4 separate regions of the Homo sapiens genome follow, and regions 1, 2 and 4 are each linked to region 3. The links are contacts of gene promoters, found by promoter capture Hi-C in blood cells and fetal thymus (Javierre and others, 2016). All regions are on one chromosome and are shown on one strand. The core of a region is centred on a gene start or on the middle of the fragment in contact, and the rest is flanking DNA. Distances in the headings are between cores, read along the strand shown.

Evidence for each region. The method cuts DNA at HindIII sites, captures the fragments that hold promoters and counts their contacts. A CHiCAGO score of 5 or more calls a contact.
Region 1: a contact is called between a fragment that was not itself captured here and the fragment with the promoter of RNF175 in region 3, in 1 of 17 cell types (neutrophils). The highest score is 5.7, in neutrophils.
Region 2: a contact is called between a fragment that was not itself captured here and the fragment with the promoter of RNF175 in region 3, in 2 of 17 cell types (activated CD4 T cells and M2 macrophages). The highest score is 5.2, in activated CD4 T cells.
Region 4: a contact is called between a fragment that was not itself captured here and the fragment with the promoter of RNF175 in region 3, in 1 of 17 cell types (neutrophils). The highest score is 6.2, in neutrophils.

The regions. Positions count from the first base shown.
Region 1 is chr4:153,405,595-153,408,586 of GRCh38, reverse strand. All of the region lies in intron 6 of MND1 (meiotic nuclear divisions 1), which reads right to left. Among named protein-coding and RNA genes, the nearest start is that of TMEM131L, 59 kb to the left of the region's middle. The HindIII fragment of the contact is 8,859 bases long and covers 1-2,992 here.
Region 2 is chr4:153,322,507-153,325,391 of GRCh38, reverse strand. It overlaps TRIM2 (tripartite motif containing 2), which reads right to left. Exons shown (of 12, transcript NM_015271.5): 9 at 2,576-2,744; 10 at 1,244-1,314. Among named protein-coding and RNA genes, the nearest start is that of MND1, 21 kb to the left of the region's middle. The HindIII fragment of the contact is 1,145 bases long and covers 949-2,093 here.
Region 3 is chr4:153,758,572-153,761,410 of GRCh38, reverse strand. It overlaps RNF175 (ring finger protein 175), which reads left to right and starts at 1,387. Exons shown (of 9, transcript NM_173662.4): 1 at 1,387-1,614. The coding sequence starts at 1,549. The HindIII fragment of the contact is 8,763 bases long and covers 1-2,839 here.
Region 4 is chr4:153,375,852-153,378,561 of GRCh38, reverse strand. The region is part of intron 4 of MND1 (meiotic nuclear divisions 1); the gene reads right to left. Among named protein-coding and RNA genes, the nearest start is that of MND1, 33 kb to the right of the region's middle. The HindIII fragment of the contact is 2,543 bases long and covers 51-2,593 here.

The DNA.
Region 1 (2,992 bases), core at 48-2,547, 350 kb after region 3:
TAAGAATTTTACTATATAGGCATTATAAGACCACAATAAGTGTGACTCTAAAAAAAATTTTAGGGATAAGAAAGTAATCTCATAGCGGGAAGTATTTACTTTTACTTTAAATACACATCGTGCTATCAAATGTATCTGTATGTATATTATGTACTTCGAGTTACTCTGCACAGCATGTAACAATGCCATGATTAATGGGGCATTAACTATTACTTACAATGATGGCATTTTTAATTGAAAGATAATTTATATGTCACAAAATTCAGCATAGTAAACTATATAATTCAGTAATTTTTATTTATTTATTTACTTATTTAGGGACTGGGTCTCACTCTGTCTCCCAAGCTGGAGTACCATGGTGTGATCATAGCTCACTGCAGCCTCAAACTGGCGGGCTTAAGCAATCCTCCTGCCTCAGTTTTCTGAGCAGCTGAGACTACACGCATGCGCCACCATGCCCAGCTCATTTCTTGTAGAGATAGGGGTCTTGCTATGTTGCCCAGGTTGGCCTCCAACTCCTGGCCTCAAGTGATCCACCCCATCTTGGCCTCCTAAAGTGCTGGGATTACAGGTATGGGGCACCATGCCTGGCTTTCAGTGGTTTTTATGATAGTCACAAAATTGTACAACCATTACTACTATTTAATTCCAGAACATTTTTTCATCACCCAGAAAAAACCCTTGTGCCCCTTAGCACTCACTCCACATTCCTTCTCCCTCCGTCCCCTGGCAACTACTAACCTAGTTGCTGTCTTTTCTCTATGGATTTCCCTTTTGTGTACATTTCATATGAACGAAACATACGATATGTGGTCTTTTAGGTCTGGCCTCTCTCACTTAACACAATGTTTTCAAGGTTCATTCATGTATCAATACCTCATTCTTTTTTATGCGAAGTACTATTTTACAATTTGCTTATCCATTCATCAGCTGATGGACATTTGGGCTGTTTCTGCTAATACGAATAATTTTTGTGTGGACATATTTTCAATTATCTTGGGTATATATTTTGGCGAAGAGATAAATTGTTTGCCAAAGTGGTAGCACCACTTTATAATACCACCAGCAATCTAAGAGTTCCAGTCTCTCCACATTCTCATCACTTATTATTTTCTATTTTTTTTTGAGATGGAGTTTTGCTCATTGCCCAGGGTGGAGTGCAATAGCGCGGTCTTGGCTCACTGCAACTTCCACCTCCCAGGTTCAAGCAATTCTCCTGCCTCAGCCTCCTGAGTTGCTGGGATTACAGGCATGTGCCACCACACCCAGCTAATTTTGTATTTTTAGTAGAGATAGGGTTTCACCATGTTGGTCAGGCTGGTCTCCAAGTCCCAACCTCAGGTGATCCGCCTGCCTCGGCCTCCCAAAGTGCTGGGATTACAGGCGTGAGCCACCGTGCCCGGCCTCATTATTTTCTATTTTTACATTATAGCCATCCTAATGGGTGTTGATATGGTTTGGCTGTGTCCCCACTCAAATCTCATCTTGAATTGTAACACCCACAATTCCCACGTGTTGTGGGAGGACCCCAGTGGGAGGTGATTGAATTATGAGGGCGGGTCTTTCCTGCCCTGTTCCCATGATAGTGAATGAGTCTCACAAGATCTGATGGCTTTAAAAATGGGAGTTTCCCTGCACAAGCTCTCTTCTCGTCTGCCACCATGTGAGACGTACCTTTCACCTTCCACCATGATTGTGAGGTTTCCCCAAATACGTGGCACCGTAAGTCCAATAAACCTCTTTCTTTTGTAAATTGCCAAGTCTCAGGTATGTCTTTATTAGCAGTGTGAAAACAGACTAATAGAAGTGTGAAGTAGTATCTCACTGGGGTTCTGATTTGCATTTGCTAATGATTTTGTGCATCTTTTCATGTGCTTATTGGCCATCTGTGTATCTTCTTGGGGGAAGTGTCCGTTCATATCCTTTGCTCATTTTTCAACTGGGTTGTCTTTTTATTGTTGTATTATGAGTTCTTTATATATTTTGGATACTAGACACTTGTCAGATACAGGACTTGTGACTATTTTCTTCCATCCTGAGTTCACTTTTTACTTTCTTTTTTTCTTTTTGTGATGGAGTCTCTGTCACCCAGGCTGGAGTGCAGTGGTACAATCTTGGCTCACTGCAACCTCTGCCTTCCTGGTTCAAGCGATTCTCCTGCCTCAGCCTCCCGAGTAGCTGGGATTACAGGTGTGTGCCACCACACCCGGCTAATTTTTGTATTTTTAGTAGAGATGGGGTTTCACCATGTTGGCCAGGCTGGTCTCAAACTCCTGGCTTCACATGATCCACCTGCCTTGGCCTCCCAAAGTGCTGGGATCACAGGCATGAGACACCGCGCCCAGCCTCTTTTTACTTTCTTGATATTGTACAAAACTTTTTAACTTTGATGAAGTCCATTTAACTACTTTTTCTGTGGTTGTTTCTGCTTTTGGTGTCATATTCAAGGAATTGTTGCTTAACCCAAGGATAAAGAAATATAAATCCGGCCTGGCACAGTGGCTCACGCCTGTAATCCCAGCACTTTGGGAGGCCGAGACGGGCAGATCACGAGGTCAGATCAAGACCATCCTGGCTAACACGGTGAAACTCCCTCTCTACTAAAAATGTAAAAAATTAGCCTGGCGTGGTGGTGGGCGCCTGTAGTCCCAGGTACTCGGAGGTTGAGGCAGGAGAATGGCCTGAACCCGGGAGGCAGAGCCTGCAGTGAGCCAAGATCATGCCACTGTACTCCAGCCTGGGTGACAGAGTGAGACTCCGTCTCAAAAAAAAGAAATATAAATCTGTTTTCTTCTAAGAGTTTCATAGTTTCAGCTCTTCCATGTAGGTCTTTGATCCATTTGAGTTAATTTTTTTGATGTAAGGTGGGGGTTCAGATTAATTCATTTGCATGTGGATATCCAGTTGTGCCCAATACCATGAGCTAAAAACATGATTTCTTTCCTGATTCCATGGTCTTGGCACCTTTGTTGAAAATCAATTGGGTTTATTT
Region 2 (2,885 bases), core at 272-2,771, 440 kb after region 3:
TTGAGTGTAGGGGGGACCTATGCCACCATGTGAGCATCTCTGGAGAGACAATATGGCAGGGAGCAGTTTCAGAAAAAAGCAACGGTGGGCACCCTGTTCCCTTATCCTGACCCCATTTCCGCAGCCCACTGTGCGCTACTGTCTGCACAGGGACTTGGCACCCATCAAAAAGATCCAAGCCCTCTCCATTTACTCAGGTTAGAGGCTCTCCAGGATGCAGAAAGGACATCACAGAGAGTACCTTTGGGTGTTAAAAAACCTACCCCTTATCTAGCTATCGCAGTCATTAGCACTGATAAGTCATTATTAATTTTGGTTGCTCAGTCATTGTTTCTAAGTGCAAACTTTACTCACTGGCATACCATCCTCTGCTGTTTCCTTATCATTTTTCCTTTAAAATGACTCACCTTTTAAAATTTAGATTAATGTATTTAAAAGAAAAACTTTATTATGTCTGTAAGTGCAAAACAGCATCACTTGATGTAAACAAAAGGTAGCCCTAAAATAAATGCATAACTTAAAATAAAAATATCCACCAGTGTACTGCCTATGGCCACGGATCATACCTTCAGTGGAACATGCATCACACCTTGAGAAGCCTGATCTAGGATATTACTAAATATTTCCTCATCATTTCAGTAAGTGAGTAATGTGTTTTGAACCATTTTATTATTTCCTGATTTTCTCATAATAAAGTTCAATTCTCTCTCCCCTGGTACCTAGTAAGAAAGATATACTATAGGTCACTGTTTTCTAAAGAACACCAAATGTGTGAAAGCATTCTAAGAAGTATAAAATATACTGTATGAATGTATGCTAGGATTATCCCCCTCCCCATGCTGTCTGTTGTTGTAACAGAGTCGAACATCTAATTTTTTTTTTAACAAAAAGATGCGGAAAATTGAAAAAGTGATTTTAATTTATTGACTAGCCACAAAACATTAAGCTTCAGAAAGTTCTGCCTCTAAGTTCAACGAATTGCTTTTTAAAATTTAATTTTCAAGTCCTCTTCATTTGCACCAGTTTCAAATTAAGCAACTTATTGCCACCACATTTTATTCAATTTCCTGACTTTCCAAGGTCTGTAAGTCCAAGTTAAAACCGGCATCTTTGAGCAGAACAAAGTCTACTCTGCTGGTTAACTCCCTTTGGTGCCATATGTAAGTATTGCATTATTTTCTCGCAGACCAATTTCTCCATAAAAGCAGTTAAAAGTTAACAACAACTCATGTGCTTGTAGTACCTTGACAGAATGATTATGGAAATCTGTAATAATAATCTCATTATTGCTATTTACAGCTGCAAAATGGGGACCTGCAATAAAGATGGAAAAAAATATGTGATGACTACAACAAAAGTGATTACATATAGCAGTTACTGTAACAAACAAACTTAATATATTAACTTAGTTATTTAAGAAAGTACAAAGAATCATAGACTCAGTCTTTGAAAGATCATTCAGCCAGACCTCCAGTTGCAGATAACATGGATCCTATATTATTCTCTACTTGCGCCAGTCTATTCTGACTCTTTCTCAAGCAGGCTGGGAGTTCTAGCAGCCCTAATGAAGTGGGAGGAGCAGTAAGCATCAGAATTCATTCTCCGTGCCACCATCTAAAAGTCACATCTGCCAGCTTCCCTGAGTATCTGTTAGTCATTTTAGAGCCCTCAGCTCCCACCAAGGAAAGACGTGGCAACTCAGCATTGGAAAAGAGACTCCAATATGTAATTTTTAAAAATTGATTAGCTGGACATGGTGGCACATGCCTGTAGTCCCAGCTACTTGGAGGGCTGAGGCAGGAGGATCACTTGAACCCAGGAGGTCGAGGCTGCAGTGAGCTGAGATCACGCCACTGCACTCCAGCCTGGGTGACAGAGCGAGACCCTGTCTCAAAAACAAAACAAAACAAAACAAAACAACAGAAAACCCACACTATAATTCTGGGTGACATTCAGAAACTTGGCAGAACTGGAGACAAAGCATAAACAAATATTATGCAAATTAATACTAAGTGCCAAAAGCATCCTTTCAAAAAGAAAATTAATAAGCTATTTTCAGCCTCTTCTTGCAAATGCAAAAACCTAAATAAGCTTGTGATTGCAAAGTGCTACACCAAAGAGACGTAAAACAGACTGCCCTCCTTAAACCTAGCAAATATTCTAGACTCCTGTTCTCTTACAATAACCTAGAAAGGTGAAAAAAAATTCTCATTCAGTGGCTTTTTAAGCAAAGTTACAGCTAGGCTGAAACAGTAGTTATTCCTTGTTTTTCAAATATTTTTATTTTAAAATTTATACCTTATTTAATATGAATATTTCAAAGCTAGACTTCTGAGTTGTGAACTGCCACCGATAAAAACCACACAAGGACTGCAGCTCAACTTACTGCCGGGTGGGTGGCGGTGACTAAGGCTCAAGCAACGAAACATGCTTTTGCTTAGATTTTATCCCCAGCATCTTTCCCAAAGCCAGCAAACACACTAGGGATGCGGTGTCTTCAACATGCTCCAACATCATGCAAATGTGAGCAGAAGAAGCATAAAAAAGGGGGTTTACATATTACCATCGAGTGTACCTGCAAACTGCCTGTCCCCATTTCCTCGGCTACCAAACCTGGTGACTATTTTCCCGTTTGGCTGGAAGATAAACACGCAGCACGCCTTGTTGTCCACAACAATAATGTGCCCATTGCGGTCCACAGAAACTCCTTTGGGTCCCATCAGCTTTCCTGATCCAATTTTTGTCTGTTTGAAACAAGTACAGAAATAGAAGTACAGTATAGAGTCAAAGTTTAAACCACTACAGAACATGAAGATAAACACTGTTTTGGTCAACATTTACCTGAAGGTTCAAACGGGTACACAGCTACTCATATATCACAATGA
Region 3 (2,839 bases), core at 138-2,637:
CTGTTCTCTCCATCTCAGACACTCTTTCCAACACACTCTGATCATGCTACAAGGTAGTCTTCAGATGTAGGTAACAGCCCCAGCGGCACCTGAAAACTTGTTCAAAAGACAAATGCTCAGGCTCCACCCTAGACCTACTATATTAAAAACTCTAGGGCTCAACTCCAGCAATCTGAAGATTTTTGTTTTGTTTTTTGATAGAGTCTCGCTCTGTTGTCCAGGCAGAAGTGCAGTGGTTCCATCACGGCTTACTGCAGCCTGAACCTCCCGGGCTCCGGCGATCCTCCAGCCTCAACCTCCTGAGTAGCTGGGGCTACAGGTGTACCACGCCCAGCTCACTTTTGTATATTTTATAGAGATGGGGCTTCACCATGTTGCCTAGGCTGGTCTCAAACTCCTAGGTTCAAGCAATCCGCCCGCCCTGTCCTCCCAAAGTGCTGGGATTAAAGGCATCAGCCACTGTGCTTGGCCAGCACTCTGAGTTTTAACAAACTCAGCATTCCTCCATAGGATTCTGATGCCCAGTTAAGGCTGGAAAACCAAGGCACCATCCGTGATAAATTGTACTTAGATGCTTATTTTTCTCTATCCCCTGTTAGGCTCTACGTTCCACAATGGCAGAGAAATGTCCATCTTGGTCTGTTCACCTCCTTTGTAGGTGTTGACAAATACGAGCCATCACAAACTGGAAAGGGGTAAGCTGTATTTCGTAGGACACATCATCTAATTCTGTGCTCCTCTTTTCTGTTTCCCCAAATCAACACCCAGGTATTTCTAAAGGCTTGCCTAAACGTTCCAGCTTGTTCTCAACCTTGAAGCCAGGCTTAGGCCTAAGTTGTAAAGGCGGGAGGGGAGACCCTGGAGGTAGAGGGGCAAAGGCAAGATGCTTGCGTCGCAGGGGCCCTGCATGGCCTGGAGCAGCATAGGGGCCAAGATGGTCTGCGCTCTCCCTAGATTGGAGTTTCTCTCCTTCATCATCTTTGGAGGAAGCACAGATAACTGAGGAAAGTCTGTATCTGCACAGCCACCCGAACTCCTGCCTCCTAATAAACACCTCTGAGGGAGAGGAAACTCTCTCTCTCTCTTCTCTTCCTCCCCAGCACCCCTCGCCCCCCCACCGCCATTTCTCACTCCTCTACTCCCCTCTCTCTCCCTACCCACCTCTGACCCCTCCTCCAGTCCTGCCGCCCGGTAACAAAACCGGGGTTCCCGCCACACGCACCCGGTAGGGCTCAAGACGCTTTATCGGCGACAATGGCTGGCTGAATGGGAGGCCTGAGGTTCTGAAGGAACCGGGGTGCTGGCGACCGGGACCTCGAGGCCGCTGCTGGGGAGGACGCTGGCCAGCGTGCAGGGGGCGGAGGCGGGGCGTGCCGGGAGGCTCCCATCTCCCGCCCCGCACAACCCGGGCAGGGCCGCCGCTCCGCCGCCGCCGCAGATCCGGCTCTCACCCTCGGCTCCCGAGGCCCCGCGGCGCCTCCTTCTGCGGACTCTGCGGGACCCTCCCCGGCAGGCGCTGTGCCCTGGAGAAGGCACAGTGGCTCAGGCATGGCCGCGGGGACGGCGGCGCGGAAGGCAGCGCCGGTGCTGGAGGCCCCCCCGCAGCAGGAGCAGGTACTGGCGCGGGGGCGCGGGCGTGGGGGACGCCAGGCCGGGGTCCCGGGGCTCACGCTGGTGCCGGGCAGGCTGCACAGACTGGTCTCCAAGACCCCGGGCCCCACCGGGGAGAACCGGCCCTGGAAAGACGTGGGGACGGACGCATGACCTTCTGGAAGATGCCACCGTGCGGGGTGCCAGTCCCTCCTCCACTCCCTCCCTCCCCACTTCTGTGCCCTCCCCGCTACCTTCCTTTCCTCCTTCTGATCCTCTTCCTTCGCTCCATCCCTCTTCTCGCATCCTCGCACTTTCTCTTCCAGGCTCACCCCTTCCACTCCCGCCCTCCTTTGTGACCGCCTGTGCCCTCCTCCCTCCTCGGCGGAAGCCCCCAGAGCCCAGGGTCAAGGTCGTAAGCTGCGAGAGAGGGGAAGGGGTGTACTGCAGGCTTTTGGCTAGACCGCCCTGGTTCTCAAACTCGAGTGTCATCAGAATCACTCGGAGGGCCTGTTACCACGCAGACTGCTGGTCTGTGCCCAGGGTTTCTGATTCAAGATGTGTACCCTGATCGTCAGCTTGTCTTGCCTGGTGCTCAACCTAGCCCATTTCTGCTTCTGCTGGCGTCAATTGCAAACCCAATCTTAATTTATTCTTCGTTCATAGGACAATTCTTCTTAGGCTACATCCAGGTACCAGGAGGATTTGGGGGTGGAGGAGGGTAGGTCTTACCTGGAGGAACCCAAATCCCATCCGTAAAACGAGGACAAAAATAACTCTTAAGGGCAAAGATAACTCTTAAACAACAACAAAAATCACTCACAGAGCGGGTAGGAAGAGATTAATGTCCCAAAATAGGTTCAGGCAAAGAACTGTAGGATTTCTGAGAAGGGCTTGCTCCTGACTAACCCCCTTCTCCTCCAACCCGTGAGGGCGTGGCATTCGAGCTGGGTGTTGGGGAATGGACAGGATCTGACCTCATGGGCCAGAGAATTCTAGATGGAGGGAACAACAGTACCAAATGGCTTGGAGATTTTTTTTTTTTTAATATTGGGATGGATGGCCATGGGACAAGGCAGAGAGAGGGGACTGTCCACTCTGACTGCCAGAAACCTAGGGGTCAGGAATGCTTATAGCAAAAAATAAGGGTGGGCTAGGCTGTGGAGGGGCTTGTGTACCACAAAATGGGGAAACTTAAAATGAAACTCCATGACTTTCTTGCTGGTTTCAAACCCAGATTATCGAAAGG
Region 4 (2,710 bases), core at 73-2,572, 380 kb after region 3:
ATAAAAATGGGTTGAATGAGATTCACAATGCATGCTGGCATATTAAAGCTTTAGAAAAGTCAAACTAGTTTATCTTTGTCAACCCAGGATTGCTCAAATTCCTTTGATTATAGAACCCCCTTTTATGTAACACTTATCATATATCCATTCCACAGAATTACTTTGGGTAATGCTGAGCTCAGGCCCAGCAAAATATAATTCAGGTAAGCTAGTAGAAAAAAAAGTTAAAAATTCACATTTAATTATTTCTATACAATATGTATTTCTGAAGCTGAGTTCTAGAAAAAAAATCAAGATTACTAAAATAACTATTTAATGGAAACCACCTTTTCTGCTGTATGTGTAGACTGGGAGTCAAAGAAAAGGTATGGGCCAGGGAGTAAGACTACTGGACCCAGTACACAATAGCTGGGACAGAAACAAGGCTGTGATATATTGATTTATGCATTCACTCAAAATTCATCATGTTTCTGTATGTTTCAGTGTGTCTCAGAGACTGCATTCCACGTGGGAGATAGAAAACGATTAAGATATAGACCCTGCCTTCAAAGAAAGTCTGCCATAGAAAACAAGGCACATAAGGACTTCACTTGAGAAAAGATATATATAAAAGACAGTCACAGCACAAAAAAGTATTATACTCTGCTGAGGAGGAAGGGATTAAAAAACTTCCAAGCAAAAAGAACAAGGCACATACAACTATAATTGGTCCATTATAGATAAAGAAAAAGAAAAAAGCCAGGCACAGCATGTAAATGGCGGAAGTTAAATCTGAATCTAGGGAGTCTAGGTCTAGAGTCTACTCCCTTAAATCACTGCGCTATAGTGCCCTTCACCCTTCAATTCCCTTATGAGCTCCCACAGATCTTTCTAGCACCAACTTACACGTCTCCTTAACTATAAAGCCTTTTCGGAAGCAGAACTGACTTTCACCCTCTTTTGTACTATCATTATTTTTCAGCATTGCATATATCACACCATATTGCAATGATTTGTTGACATGGCCATCTCTTCATTAGAGTGAGAGGTTCTAGAGAACAGAAACTACCTAATTCATTCTTATGTCCCTCTCATCAATCACAATGCCTGCCATAGCAAGCATTCACTAAACATTTACAGAACTGAATAAACTTCAGTAGAGATGCCTATTTTTATTCAAAAACATTTCAAGTTATCTACACAGCCCAATAATTAACCTACTCTTGATGCACTCAGTTTTAGCTATAAAGAACTGTATATATTCACTTCTAAAAATTGGTAACAAAACAAAACAAATACTTAAGTTGTCCTAAGAATATCTGTTAGTGTCCTCCCTAAACCAATACACAATATCTAAAATTCAGCTTAGTATGGATTTCAAAATGTAATCCTTATCATAAGCCAATCCCTAAAAAATATGTCCCCAAACTACCTTCCAGTGGCAACAAGTGGGGTATAAACCAGAACTTGGATGAAGAACTAAGGAAGAGGTCAGCAGGGGAAGAAAACAAAATAAAGATTTTGATTTTCATAATTCTGACCCATTAACTTTAAATAAAACTCAGTCAAAAACCACTACATAGACTTGCTGCCATATTAATAAAATTCTCCAAATTAGTATAAGGTTTTTGTTAAGAATAACTTCATACCCTTTATTTCCTTTAATTTTCATTCACTTGTCAAATACTTGAATCTACCACATGCCAAAAACGGTGCTAGGTACTGATACAAGTTGACTAAGACATGGGGTTGAGTAAGCCAACAATTGTAGCATAGTCCAGCAGATTAGAGTTATGCTCGGGGTACCACAGCACCAGAGAAAAGGAATATGTAAGTCAGAACAGGAAGTGTGGAAGGGACGGACAGGGGTACAAATACAAAAATAAATTTTGGAAATTCTATTCTTTTTGGAAAAAGACTAAAAAATGTGCATTTCAAGTCAGTAGTGGTCAGTTACTTCCTGTATTGCCAGGTGACTCCAGGGGAATAGCAGGTTAAACATAACAGTTACAACATTGCTCTTTCCTGGCTGTGTGCACATCACAGTACCCCATGCTATGTCCACTAACACAAGCCAAAGTAAAATGGAGGAAGTCATTCCCTTGAAGTTGAATTGTTCTTTCATTCTTAAGACCAAGTTATTTGGGAAGGGCAAAGAAGAGAACCAGAAGATGATGGGAAGAACCTATCCTTACACATTTTTACCTGGCTTTTCCTTAGAAAAAATATTCAGAAAGACCACAAACACACTCACTCCTTTTCTCTTTCAAGTGTGTGTGTGCACACACCCACAAACACACATCCACACACACAGTGACTAAATCATTACCACACGGGGGAAAATGAACAAGTTCCAGCTAAAATTCTAGAAATAGCTATCAAGAAGAAAAAGTCATCTCTTGACTTTTAATAATTTCTATATATTCTTCAGCATACAGAGAAATGTCATTTCAGTTGGAAGTTTCTACAACATAATTAATCTTTATAATTATTATCTGTCGAGCCAAAATAGCTGCTTCACTATCATCCAAATACTAAAAAAATTTACATATATTTCAGGAGAACTAGCAGATTAGAACATGCACTACCACTTTCATCACTTCCACATAAAGCTTTTCTTGCCCATTAAAATTATTAATTTATGTTAAAAGTCTTCAGAAATGCATCTGTGTCACAGCTAGAGATGTTAGTTTAACAATTATTTTTCCAAGCCAATACAAAGATTTATTTC